Regions from separate parts of the Homo sapiens genome. Here regions 2 and 3 are each linked to region 1. The links are contacts of gene promoters, found by promoter capture Hi-C in blood cells and fetal thymus (Javierre and others, 2016). All regions are on one chromosome and are shown on one strand. Each heading gives the region's core, a stretch centred on a gene start or on the middle of the fragment in contact. The rest is flanking DNA. Distances are from core to core; before and after follow the strand shown.

Region 1 (4,205 bases), core at 1,170-3,669:
ACAGACCCTGATCAGATCCACGTGCTGGTGGAAAGGACAATTTAAAAAATGAAACTATCAAACGACAGACGGTTACAGAAAGAGGATCTTCTACCCTGATTACTTTGTTGTTGTGGGGGTGGCATGGGTGCTTGGGGACAAAAGGCATGCTGTGAAGTACCTCTCCCCACCTGGGCCTTTGGTACCCAGAATTAACAAATGGCATGGGTTCTTATTTATTGTTTTATAAGATCACTAAAATGTAGTCTTGGGACAACAGGAAAAAAATAATAATAAAGCTCACAGAAGTGTCCTGGGCTTCTCCGCAGCCGGTCATTGTTCATTTAGTAAACAAGTGAGCCATACAAATCTCTAGGAAGCCAGGTTTGTTCAGTTTATGCGTCCTCCCAGAACTAACTGTTCTTTTGGATAAGCACGGCCCGGGCATTCCACAGACCCACAAACATCAGGCAGTGGGCAATCTGGGGTCCCGCCTAAATATCACTGCCCCCTTACTTTAAGAAATCCGCCTACAAGCAGAAAGCAGAGGTGGAGGAGGGGGATTGGAGAGCGCTGCCTCTTCCCAAGCTTCCCACTCTGAGGGATTTGGCCGAGTCCCGAGGGCACTGAGCAAGGAACCAGGAATATTGTCCTCAGGGCTCCACTGGACATTCCTGGAGTCTGTTTCCTGGGCAGGACGGCCAGGTGAGAGGCAGCCTATTACACTGCATGACCACTGCAATGAGGAACAGTAGAATGTTCCCCAGCGCCTTAAAGTACAGCCGCTGTCCATCCACGGATGTCAAAACGCTCTGCAAACCACCCATTAATTTTTATGGTGGCTTGAGAAGCAGATTGAGAATCATTACCTTCATTTTTACAAGGCAAGGAACCAAAACCACAGAGGGCGGTGAGGATCCAGGCCTCTCCCATCATTTCATCTGGGCCACGGATCTCAAGGAAAGCCCCCAGCCCACTGGGAAGGGGACTCGTGGCCAGCAGAGATTCTGCCCGGGTAGGGAGCAAGGAAAAAACCCAAACTTTGGAGCTCAGAGACGGTCACAAGGGTGAGAAGGGGCGGCTGCATTCAGGGATTCTCTGGTTTAGGCAAGAATGGCTCCAGTTCTAACTTAATGTTCAAATCTGCCAGGCTGTGACAAGGCTGGTAAAAAATGTGGGATTGGGGATGGTTTCCTGTTTGCTGTTTATATTTCTCTTTATCTCTAGCTTTCTGTCCTGAGCATACATTGTTTCTGTAATCAGAACAAAAGTTATGCGAACTTTATTATTATCACGGATAAATTCTATAGTTCCAATCTGCCTACTAACTTGGAAAGAATAAGCAGGAATACAATCTCGCACAGTGTTCTTTTTCAGATCTCATCGATCCATCAGGCTCCACGACCCTCTGCTCGCTGAGTCCGGCGGCTCTCCCGCGGCTCCTCCCGCGCGGCATCTCTGGGCGCCCGACACCCGGTCAGGGCCAGCTGGGCCTGTCCCCAACCCCCGTCTACACCGCAGGCCCCGGGCTAGGAGCCGCGGGACCCAGGGTTGGGGTCCCAACTGACACCCGCCCGTGCCGCGGAGCGGGCTTCTCGGTAAACATCGCTCAGAGAACAACGCGCCTCTATCCCAGCCGGTCCCCGCCCGCGGGCCGCCGGCGCTGTCACCTCGCGGCTGCTCGGTCACCCGATCGCCAAGCCAGAAACCGGAGTTTTCAATTTCATCCTCACAGGAGGGATCTCCGAAGAAGTTGAAATATGCATTGTCACCAACAAGTTTAACCGGAGACCGCGCGTCCTTCCCTCCTCCCCAGCGCCGCTCGAGGGGGGCGCCCCGACCCCTCCACGCCCTCCCGTGGCCCCCACGGCCCCCGTGAGCCGAGCGCGCCCCCCGATTTGCGCCCGAGGACGCGTCCGGTTGCCCAGGGAGGCCACCCCGCAGGGCCGCCCGCCGGGAAGTGGCCAGAGCCGGGGTTGGGGGGCGGCCCGAGCGCACGCGGAGGGCTGCGGCTCGGCGCCCGGAACCCCGGGCCGGGTCCCTGCCCACCAGCACCAGGGAGACCCGAGCGCCCGGGGGAGCGGCGAGGGGCGCGCGAGGCTTCCCCGAAGCCGCCCCACGCCCAGGCACCCGCGCAGCCCCGAACTCAGGCGGCGGTGGCACGATCGGCGCCCGCGGCACGATCTGCGCCCGCAAGGGAGTGCAAAGCCCCCGAGCACGACCCCGCGCCCCCGCCGGCCCCCAGGGCCCTGCCGCCCGAGGCGCTCCCCGCCGCCGCCTGCCTACCTGGCTCGCATGGCGTCCCCGCCGGCTCCTGAGGCTCCGCTCGTCGGCCAGCGGCTCGGCCCAGCCGGGGGCGCGCGCGGCTCCGCGGGACTCACGGCGGCGGCGGCGGCGGTAGTGGCGAGGGGCCCGGACCGCCGAGAGTGCCGGGCGCGCTGGGCCCCCGCCTCGGCGGGCGGAGGGTGGTCCCGCGCCTGGGCGGGGGCGGGGGCGGGGGCGGGGGCGGGGGCGCGGGGGGCGGGGCCAGGACCGGAGCTGAGGCCGCGGAGGGGGTGGTCCCGCGCCGGGGCGGGGCTTCGGGAGAGGGGCGGGGCGGGGCGCGGCCGTCTGAGGCTGGCGAGCGTGGGGCGGGCTGGGGGTGGTGCCGCGGCTCCGGGTCCAGGCGGGTATCCAGTCTGGGCGCCTCCTCTTCTTCCTCCGCCCGGAGCCGGCCAGGGTAGCGGGGCCTTGGCCGCCCGGCATCCTCGGGTCTGGGTCCCCGGTACCGAGCAGGTCTGGGTGCTGGCCCGCGCTCCTGTGCCCCCCCGCACCCCCATCTCCCACCCCTTCTCCGGGAACCCCTAGCGAGGACCCCTGGGGCGGTGCGGTCCCCCCGCGAGCGGGCGTGGGCGAGGGTCGCGCCGCGTTCGGAGACGCTTTACTACACCTTGGCTGAGGACAGTGGAGGGAAGGCAGGCGCGAGGCTGCGGGGGCCGGAGCGAAAGTTACAAACTAACAACAGGGAAGGCAGTCCGGCTGAAAATCATAAAAGGAGGAGAGTTTCCTGCGAAGCGGAATGCAGATTGAAGGGCTCTGGTCGGAATCGTTTACACTTTGTCTGACCTGGGCGCCTCTGGGCCCCCGGCGCGTAAAACAGGCCTGGCACGTAGTAGGCGCTCCATCAATGCCCAGTGAGTGAACGCACCACTTAACTATGTGGCCAGCAACGTCTATGGACCGACACATCTAATCCTAAAAAAAAAAAAAAATCCCAATTTTGGCTAGTCCATTTCACACGAGTAAACTAGAGCTCGGAGGGTTGGTTCGCCACAGAGGAGAAGGGTAGAACCAGAATCTGAACCGAGGCCGACTCCAGAGGCTGGGGTCTAACCACTGCGCCACTGCCTGGGGCCCTCGGGACTGCGCCCACCCCCACCCCGGGAACCCGGAGCCCAGGAGAAAGCGCGGGTCTTTGCCGGGGAAGAAGCCAACATTTGTTGCTCCTGGTCCTGAGCGAGACACACACAGTCAGTCCTCACCATTAACCCCGAGGCAGATATTGTTATTGTCCCCGTTTTTATAGGTGGCTTGAGACGTGCAGCACTATGTTATGATCGCATGGGGCGTGCCAGAGTCTGAATTCAAACCGGGTATGTTCAGACTCCCGAGCCCCTGCGGCTGCCCCTAAGGCCTGCCGCTCCTGCCGTCTGGGAGACCTTCCTTTCCCTAAGGAATCTGGTTTTCTGCCACTCCATTTGAAGTCTGTGTTGAAGTTTCAGGAGACACAGGTGGACAGAGGCACCGACCTAGGGCTCGGGAGAAGGGTGGACATTGCTGTTCCGATTTTGGTGTCATCTGTGTGTAGATCATGGAATTCCTGAAAATGGATACGAGTATCCCTAAAATACATGCCGCAGATTTTGAAAGGAGGCAGTGAGGCGAAGGGGCAGGTGGAGGAAGCAGAGAAGCCTCCGAGCAGAGGAGAGTTTCTGGGTGGCTAGGAGGTCTGATTGGTGTAGGGATGTGTCTGGAGTGTGCTTGAATCTCTGGCAAGTTATCTCGCCTCTCTGTGACTCAGTTTCCTAAATGAGTGTAAAAATGAAAGGCAGCATGTAAAGTGCTCAGCAGACTGCCTGGCACACAGTAGCTTTCAGTAAGTTTTAGCTACTATTAGTACTGCTATCCCAAATGACATCCACACTGTGTTTTTTAAAAAATGCCTATAAAAACATTGAAAAAGACAA
Region 2 (4,801 bases), core at 588-3,087, 380 kb after region 1:
CTATTTCTTAAATGTATTTGGTAGCAGTTAACTTGTTATTGCAAAAACAAAAATTATTGACTCCCTATTTTGTGCTAAATACTGGGCTCTGCACTGGTGAAACAGAAGAAAGCCATACACAGCCTGCCCTCACAACGCCTCCAGTCTCAGAGAATACTTAGTAATCCCTCATGATCTACACCTTGGAAAACACTGATTTAGTTTACTCCAATCCCCACTCCTGCATGCAGAATCTGGCCACTCTAGGCTTCGGTCTAGTTCAGCATATACTGCCTCTAGGCACAGATGACTGTGGACAGTTGAACAGGGTATGGGGGGAAGCATCATTGACACGATTGTCTATGTAAATGGCTCCTTTAGGGTTGTGCAGTGCCCAACACGCGCCATTGTCCTCAGTGTCTCTGCTTAGGGCTGATTTCTGGGTTATGCATTACTACTCAAGGCACAGACCCCACGTAACCCCACCTTGGTGGCAAGGTTTCCATCCTGAGTCACTCTTTCTTGTTCCAACTTTTTCCTTTGAATATGTTCAGACCTACAGAGAAGTTTAAAAATAATATAATGGGCTGAGGTAGGCGGATCATGAGGTCAGGAGATCGAGACCAGCCTGGCTAACATGGTGAAACCTCACCTCTACTAAAAATACAAAAAATTAGCCAGGCGTGGTGGCCCGTGCCTGTAGTCCTAGCTACTCAGGAGGCTGAAGCAGGAGAATCGCTTGAACCCGGGAGGCGGAGGTTGCAGTGAGCTGAGATCGCACCACTGCACTCCAGCCGGGGTGACAGAGTGAGACTCTGTTCAAAATAATAATAAGAAGAATAATAAAATGAACATTGCATCTTAGATTCACCAATTGTTAACATTTTGCCACATATGCATTTGACATTTGTGTGCATACACACATATGTGTGCACAGAGACAAAATATATTTATTGATGAATCATTTGAAAGTAAGTTGCAGACATTGTGATCTTTATCCCTAAGTATGCACCAGTCTCCAGTGAATAAGCGCCATCCACATGACCCCAGTACAATGATCCCACGTAAGGAGACTAACAAGAATCCCATGAAATCATCTGAAAGCCACTCCATGTTCAAGTCCCCATTGTCCCAAAAATATTTTACAGTGTTTTTTTAAATCAAGCATTGTATTTGGCTGCTATTCATCTCTATTTTAGAAAATCAAGAATAGCCACCTCATCTTTTGCTTTTCATACTGTTGACCTATTTAGAGGGTCCAGACCAGCTGTCATGAAGACGGCCTTCCTCTAGATTTGTCTGATTGTTTTCTCTTGATCAGATTCAAATACCCTGGCTGGCAACACTCCATTGGTGACACTGCTGTCTTCACAGGGCCCCACCCAGAGGCATGTATGCTGGGTGGCTGCATTCCATCACTCGACGAAGGAGCTGCTACAGAGCGTCTCCATCGGAAGCACATCCTCCCTCTGAAATCAGTGGGTAATGGTGGGATGATACCGTAAGAATGAGGACATTCCCTGTCAAGAGGCTGAATCCCTCATTCTCCTCCTTATATGGGTTTCTCAGGCCTCATTCTTGAACTTTCCCACATTGTCCTCACTTTTCCCTGTCCCAATAAGGGCATCTTATGTCTGGGTGTCATTTTCATCAGAATGCAAAGGTAAACAAGTGAGAAGCGTCTTTGTGTGGCTGGAGCTTAAAGGCTGCAGGTGGACCCCGATATTTGGTGGCCAAGATCACACACTGTGCTGAGGGTCCCGTGGAACCCTCGCCCCAGGATGCACACAGAGAGGCATGTAGCACACACTTGGGAAGCTGAAGAAGGGTTTTTGGAGGAAGTGGTGTCGAAGCTGACATTAGAAGGATGAGCAGCGATCCGGGGGCAATAGGAGAGAGAATGGGGTGGTCAGCATCACATGGGTGGCCCAGATGTGAAGAGAGCACACCCAACCCAAGGGCACAGGAAATCCAGTGTTGCTGGACATCAGGGGAGGAGAGGTGAAGGCCACTGCAAGGATTGGCAGGGGGTTGATAGCAGGGCTGATAGCAAGCGGTCTCATGAGCCACCAGCTGGAGTTTAAATTTGCTCACAAGATCCATGGGAGGAGCATTAAGTTTTATTAAACAGGACTGGTTGGGAGAGGGGCTGATGTGACATGATTGGCCCTTTTAAAGGAGCCCTGTGGCCGTATGGTGGTGGCTGGATTGCTGCAGGGGAACACGAATGGAGGCAGAGCTGCCATTTGGATGGATGTCTGTCACATTGATCCAGGGAAAAGACATTTGCATCCTGAACAATGACCATGCCAATGGGATGGAAAGACTGCATGGAATTCAGTGTGTTTTGGAGGAAGTCTTAATAGTGCTGGGTGCTTGATTGGATGAAGACAAAAACCTCAAGATTGATTATTTCCTTTTCACAATTTTTGTCTTGAATTAGGGTAAACTGTATCCAGGTGGGAAGAAGCACATTTGTCCCAGGGCAAAGGATTTTATGTGAGGTCTTCATAAGAACAGTACACCCTATGTTCGATGTGTTATTTCAGCAAGAACCCAATCTTATTACCAAACTAGGTGAACATCAACATGTTAAGAAACTTGACAGCACAAGAGGAATCTCTGTGCTGATGAAACAACTCTGTATCTTCATTGTGGTGGTGGGTGGGGGTATGAATCTACACATGTGCCCAAACCACACACACACACACACACACACACACACAAATAAGTGCTTGTGGAACTGGTGAATAAGGCCTGTGGATTGCACCAACACCAATTGCCTGATGTTGAAATTGTACTGCAATTCATATCGTGGAAATTGGACTGTAATCATATTGTGTTTGCATAGTACTGTGTCACACTGGGGGAGACAGGTGAAGGTTACATAGTACCTCTCTATACAATCTTTGCAACTTCCTCTGAATATCGAATTATTTTGAAATGAAAAGTTTGAAAAAATAAGAAACTTTGTGTTTAAAAAGAAAACAGACACAGCAAGATGTTGTGAAGTCTGCACCAAGGGTTCATGGGAGATGTTTTCACTCACCTTCAGTGTAGGAAGGAATATTACTGAACTGATGTCAGTCTGGTGCTAGCCATGCTTAAGCACTAAACCATCCAGCTCATCTCAACCTCAGATGTCTGGAATCCTCCACATTTTCACCCAGTGTCAGAGTTATTTAGGTCATTGTTCCCTGGTAACGCGGTTCCCTCCAGCAAGGTCATTGTTCTGTTCCCTGGTTAAGAAGGATCAAAGGGATAGACTGTCAATTTCCTCCGACTTCCCTATTCTCCTGTTTTGACTCCTTTCACTGTGAATAATGGAACAGAAACGGGACGGACATTTTTTAAAAGACGAAAACTACTAGCTAGGTTGCTATGCTGGGTGTTTGTGGAAGGCTGAGGGTACATGTTGTTGTTGATAGTGGTAGTGGTGAAGTTACACAGCAGTGGTCAAGTAAGCTAAGGCTAGGAAAAATAATTTGAACAAAAATAAAACTTTTTGGCTGGGCACAGTGGTTCATGCCTATAATCCCCAGCACTTTGGGAGTCCGAGGTGGGAGGATTGCTTGAGCCCAGGAGTTCAAAGACCAGCTTGGGCAACATCGTGAAACCCGGTCTCTACAAAAAAAATACAAAAAATTAGCCAGGCATGGTGGCAGGTACCTGTAGTCCCAGCTATTCAGGAGGCTCACTTGAGCCTGGGAGGTCGAGGCTGCAGTGAGCCCAGACTGTACCACTGCACTCCAGCCTGTGACAGAGTGAGACCCTGTCTCAAAAAAAAAAAAAAAAAAAAAAAAAAAAAAAAAAAAAAAAAAAAAAAAACACACACACGCACATAGAAAAAAAAAAAAACCCACAACTTTTTGTCACACCTAAAGCATAATGTTGGTAAAGCTATCTGGTTGGTCCACAGTTGATATACACAGAATACTCTTATTTTTTTCACTGGTCCATAGCAGTGGCACTTTTTACAGTACTTCTGCTCAATCAAAGAAGCATTGCAAGGATGGCAGACTCCTGGAGGGACTTGCCTCCCGATGGCAAAATTGGAGTGAGGATAGTTGTTCTTGCCTGGTCTAGGCCCTGGCTTGTACTCTCACTTGGAGCTGCCTGTTAATGAGCCAAGGCCATAGTCCTTCACTGCAGATACAGCAAAAGAGGTCTGCAGGCCCCATCTGTTTAGCCCTGGACTGAGTGGGAAGGTTCAGTTTGGGGTAGAGAAGCATAAAACCACAATTTTACATTGAATCCAAATGTCAGAGATTGACATGCAATAGTAGTCTTTTACTATTAATAGCCTTGTGAGCAAATGTGTAGGTGGGCAAGAGAGAGAAAGAGAGAAAGAAAAAAATAATCACTCTACCAATTCTTACCTTCCTAGATGCCCTTTCTTCAGTTACTAGACTGTTTAAATAAAATTGGGGAAATGAAAAAATCAGAAAACCAGGTTGTTGCTGCTGAAATCATTCCATTTACTTTCAGATTACTAGTTTGCAGAAAAACACTTTTATTCTTTGGTACCAATGTGTTTCATGTGTTTCTATAAATGTGTACAGCAGCAGGAAGCTGAAGGTTAATTTGAATCAGATGTGGCACTCTCTTGAATCTTATAGTTTATTGAAATGTTGTTTAAACTGTAAAGGTTTAGTCCACATTCTCCCCCAAATTATTTCCTTATCCTTCTACCCAAGCTTCTCTTTCTGCGTTTGGAACATCAGCAGAGCCCTCCTGTGGATAATTGAATGACTGTAATTTGCTGTTCTAAACCAGTGTTCCAAGGAAGGTAATTATGTCAGCTTTGTGTTCAGCTAGTTAG
Region 3 (4,413 bases), core at 166-2,665, 400 kb after region 1:
TATTAAGTATATCATATTTATTTATTTACATGAATTTTCTCTTGTATTTGAAAGAAGAGACATTCAGTTCTTAGTCTTTAATTTTTGGTTTACCAAGTTGTGTTTATCCCTATCGCTTAATTATCAGAGTTAAAAAAAAATGAGTAGGAATTTTGACTATGCCTTATCCATGGAAAGAACTGCCATCCCCTCCTTTATACCCCGATTTTTGTTCATTCGATGCTATAAACCAACAGTGTTGTTATAATTCCATTTTTTCTTATTTGTTATAGAAATATTCTTTTGTAAAAATAAATTGGCTGGGCGCGGTGGCTCAGGCCTGTAATCCCAGCACTTTGGGAAGGCCGAGGCGGGGGAATCACCTGAAGTCAGGAGTTCCAGACCATCCTGGGCAACATGGTGAAACCCTGTCACTACTACAAATACAAAAATTAGCTGGGTGTGGTAGTGCGTGCCTGTAATCCTAGCTTCTTGGGAGGCTGAGGCAGGAGAATCACTTGAACCAGGGAGGCGGAGGTTGCAGTGAGCCGAGATCACACCATTGCACTCCAGCCTGGGCAACAAGAGTGAAACTCCGTCTCAAAAAATTAAATTAAATTAAATAAATAAATTGAGGCCTTTACCATTCATATTAGAAACAGGATATCCGATGATGACTTGTGCTTCTCTGTCAAACTCCACTAGCAGCCCAGTGGATTTCCTCTTGGCCTGTGGATTTTCTCTCTGTTTTTTAGGTTCCTGGTGGTAGGGGCACTCTTGTGAATTTCTCTCTCACTCTCTCCTTCTTTTCTGTTTTCTTTCTGTAATGTCATGGCCACTTTTAATGGGACGTTGTGGATGAGTTCCCAGGAACAGCTAGGATGTCAAAACATGACTTCAGGGGCAGAAGCTTGTTTTCAGTGAGATCATACAATTGTGATCTTCAAAGAGCGTCCTGAGTCCTGGGTGCTTCCTGGGAACACTGTTACAGGCACCATCTTTGGAGTCCGGAAGACTTACTTGCTTTATCAACTCGAACAAGTTACTCTCTGGGCCTCAGTTGCTTCTTCTGCAAAATAGTGACTCACGGAACCCTTGTGAGAAAGGTGTGATTATCCATCAAAAGTGTCTGTAAGGCACGCGCTGGAGGCTAGCAGACAGCAAGGACTTGCAAATGAACTTACCCAGCCTGTGGTCTACCACAAGATCGTTTGACCTGTGTGCATTCTCAATTCTCCCATGAGATCGCTGTAACGTTTATCTGTGGTGGGTGGGGGATGCCGAAGGAAGTTTCTGGACCCAATTTCTTCTTTCTCCCTAACCTTATGATGATGCTGTGGGCTCTGCGCTCCCTCTAGTGGTGAAACTGAACACCTTCGCTATGAGAGCAGCGTCGTTCGGGGCTGAGATGGTTGTGGTCACGATGTGGGTTCCTCTCTTTGTTCTCCTGCCCTGGCTAGGGATGCAGTTGGCACCTTCCACTCTTGGAGAGTCTGAAGAATGCAGAAAAACTTCGGAGAATGTTCTGATCGCGGAATTTGTTAGGACAGAGTCTTACAAGAACTAATTTGAGGATTTTACACATCTGCATGTATCTTTGACCTTAAAACTCTATTAATTTTTCATCGCCCTTTTCCACACTAATTATACTTATCTTTGCAAGGGTATTATACTTCCTTCCAACAGGATTTCTTACTCTCTCAAGTGATTTTGATAATCTTCATAATCCTGTTAAAAATAGCCATAATTCGTTCAAGTATATGAGAGTTGAGTACGAAATTAGTTTGGCTGGTTGACTCACTGCATTTTAAACCCAAGGATATGGGAAGAATGTCTTAATAGAGCCATTTAAATTTTCAAGATGTGAACTTGAACTTACCCTCTGAAGTTGGGGTCTAAGTTAGACAAAGAATTCTGCTTTGTGTGTGCCTGAGCACGTGTGTGTGTCTAATTTAAGCTTTCCAAAACCAGGATCGAATTCCTGTCGGTGTCATTAGGTTGTAGAACTTACGTTAAATGTTCCCTCTTTTTGTCTTAGTGACGTCTGTGATGACAAAATAATTAAGATTGTGTCTCTCTTCATGGAATCAACCTAGATGTCCATCAATGGTGGACTGAATAAGAAAATGTCATACATGTACACCATGGAATACTATGGAGCCATAAAAAAGAGTGAAATTATGTCCTTTGCAGCAACATAGATGTGGCTGCAGGCCATCATTCTAAATGAAGTAATGCAGAAACAAAAAGGCAAATGTCACATCTCACTTACAAGTGGGTGCTAAACCTTGGTACACGCAAATATAAAGATGAGAACAATAGGCACTGGGGACTCCAAAAGGAGAGAAGGAGGGAGAAAGGGAGGGAGTGGGGAGAAAGGGCTGAAGACTTTCTACTGGGTACTACCCTCACTATGTGGGTGATGGAATCAATAGAAGTCCAAACATCAGCATCACATGATATATCCTTGAAACAAACCTGCACGTGTAACCCCTGAATCTAAAATATAAAACAATTTAAAAACTCTGTGTCTTTAAATGTTTTCCACCTGCACCTGAAAGAAGAAGAACCTACGCAACTTTGAATCATACGAAGGAGTAATAGAATCTTAGAGTTGAGCCAGAGATCTCAGAGGTCCTCGTCCACACACCTCCTGATGGAGAGATTCCTTCCATAGCAACCCTGAGAGAGGGCGGACTGACCTCAGCCAAATCCATCAGAATGCTTTTGTTTGCAAGACACAAAACGAGGCAAACCCAAACCATGTGACTTATCAGTGATGGGAACTCATTGACTCACTGTCTGCATCTCTATATTGGAGTATGAGAGGGGACCGGCCAAGAAGCCAGTACAGCAGCCAGCTGTTTGGGTTGCTAGGATTCCAGACCACATGTCCCTGGGCCCCAGGAGAGGAAGCTTCCCTCTCTCCCCAGCCCGCCCCCTTTCCAGATTGTAATGCTAATGATAAGCACAGGTGTGACAACATGGGTGTAAAGCCCCTCGATTTCTTTTTCAAGCAACTCAGACGTTACTAGAGTCTGTAGGAGAAGCACAGACCCATAGCCTGGAGAAGCCATGGAGGCCACAGGCTCAGGCTGCCCTTTTCTGGTGAAGTCATTTTCTTCTTCATAATATTCTTGCTGTAGCACAAACTCCTCCCGGGCCCTCCCCGCTGGTTTCCCCTAGACACAGCTCACTCAGCACCCTCACCGTCTGAATGGATGATTATCCTTTTGTGTGTAGTTTTTCTCAATTCTGACTTTGTTCTCATAGAGGAGGAGGCCTTGGCCAGGGCGAAGGGGTTCGGGAAGGCAGCCACGCCCTCGAGCGGGTGTCTTTAGCCCCTGCCTGGGCTCCCTCGACTGCTCCAAAGAATTCAGAACTGCCTGTTTCCTCTCTCTCACTCCAAAACACTGGTTTCTCTCTCCTCCAAGTCTGCCTGAGCTGCAACTTTTTCCCAAAGTTTAACAATTTAATTCCTTGATGCCTTTCTTCTTGTCAACGTTTATTTTGGGTTCAGGGGTACATGTGCAGGTTTGTTACATAGGTAAACTCATGTCACGACATCCGTTGCACAGATTATTTTATCCCCCAGGAATTAAGCCCAGTACCCAGTAGTGATCTCTTCTGCTCTTCTCCCTTCCCCCACCCTCCACCCCCAAGTAGACCCGTGTCTGTTATTTTCTTCTTTGTGTTCATGAGTTCTTATCATTTAGCTCCTGGATGCCTTTCACTCTTTCTTCCAATCACCCCTCCTAGTGGAAAGCCCAGAGGCCACGAGCTTTGGACGCTGTGGTCAGGTAGGCCAGTGCCCCCAGGGACCGCTCTGTGCCTCCCTTGGCCAGGGTTTTTATGGCAGCTGGGGCTGGCCAGCTCTTCCATCATGTGGGTGCCCCTGGGGAAACAGGGATTGGAGTGTGCTGACTTATACAAGCGCTGGGGAGCTAGCCACAAATGTCCACTATATCGCCCCCTTCTAGAAAATTTCCAGCAATGAGATCCTCACTGCCTTAGAAGGTGCCTGCTTCATGGTTGGTTGCCTTTCATTGGCACAGGCCTGGGAACCAGGCTTCCTGGGTTCAAATCCCAGCTCCACCAATTGGCAGCCCATAATATTGGGCAAGTTTCCTAAGTGCACTGGCCTCAGCTACCTCCTGTGGAAGGTGGAAGGTATAATTGTTCCACTCCAGCATTGCTGTGAGAATCAACAGGAGGACACACATAAGGCACCTGATGTGTTGCACCTGCTCAGTAACTGCTGTCTCTGCTTCCATTTATCCTCCAACACTCCTCCTTCTGCCCTTCAGCCATTCATTCTATTCCTATGACATGGAGGCCACAGAATCCGTCTACCCTTGCGTCTGTGTTTTCAGCATTTTGGGCAGCTCTCACTGCTTCAAAAAGAATTGCCCTTGATTCTTCCTCAGGCCAAAC

Evidence for each region. The method cuts DNA at HindIII sites, captures the fragments that hold promoters and counts their contacts. A CHiCAGO score of 5 or more calls a contact.
Region 2: a fragment that was not itself captured here is called in contact with the fragment with the promoter of SH3BP4 in region 1 in 1 of 17 cell types (endothelial precursors); the score reaches 7.1 in endothelial precursors.
Region 3: a fragment that was not itself captured here is called in contact with the fragment with the promoter of SH3BP4 in region 1 in 1 of 17 cell types (endothelial precursors); the score reaches 9.9 in endothelial precursors.

What each region holds. Positions count from the first base shown.
Region 1 is chr2:234,950,231-234,954,435 of GRCh38, reverse strand. SH3BP4 (SH3 domain binding protein 4) reads right to left here and starts at 2,419. Exons shown (of 6, transcript NM_014521.3): 1 at 2,266-2,419. LOC105373938 (a long non-coding RNA gene) reads right to left here. Exons shown (of 7, transcript XR_007088132.1): 6 at 3,085-3,838; 7 at 2,637-2,997. RefSeq lists an enhancer at 1,317-1,966. The HindIII fragment of the contact is 10,965 bases long and covers 570-4,205 here.
Region 2 is chr2:234,564,770-234,569,570 of GRCh38, reverse strand. No RefSeq gene overlaps it. Among named protein-coding and RNA genes, the nearest start is that of ARL4C, 70 kb to the right of the region's middle. The HindIII fragment of the contact is 5,682 bases long and covers 1-4,678 here.
Region 3 is chr2:234,547,636-234,552,048 of GRCh38, reverse strand. No RefSeq gene overlaps it. Among named protein-coding and RNA genes, the nearest start is that of ARL4C, 53 kb to the right of the region's middle. The HindIII fragment of the contact is 1,047 bases long and covers 892-1,938 here.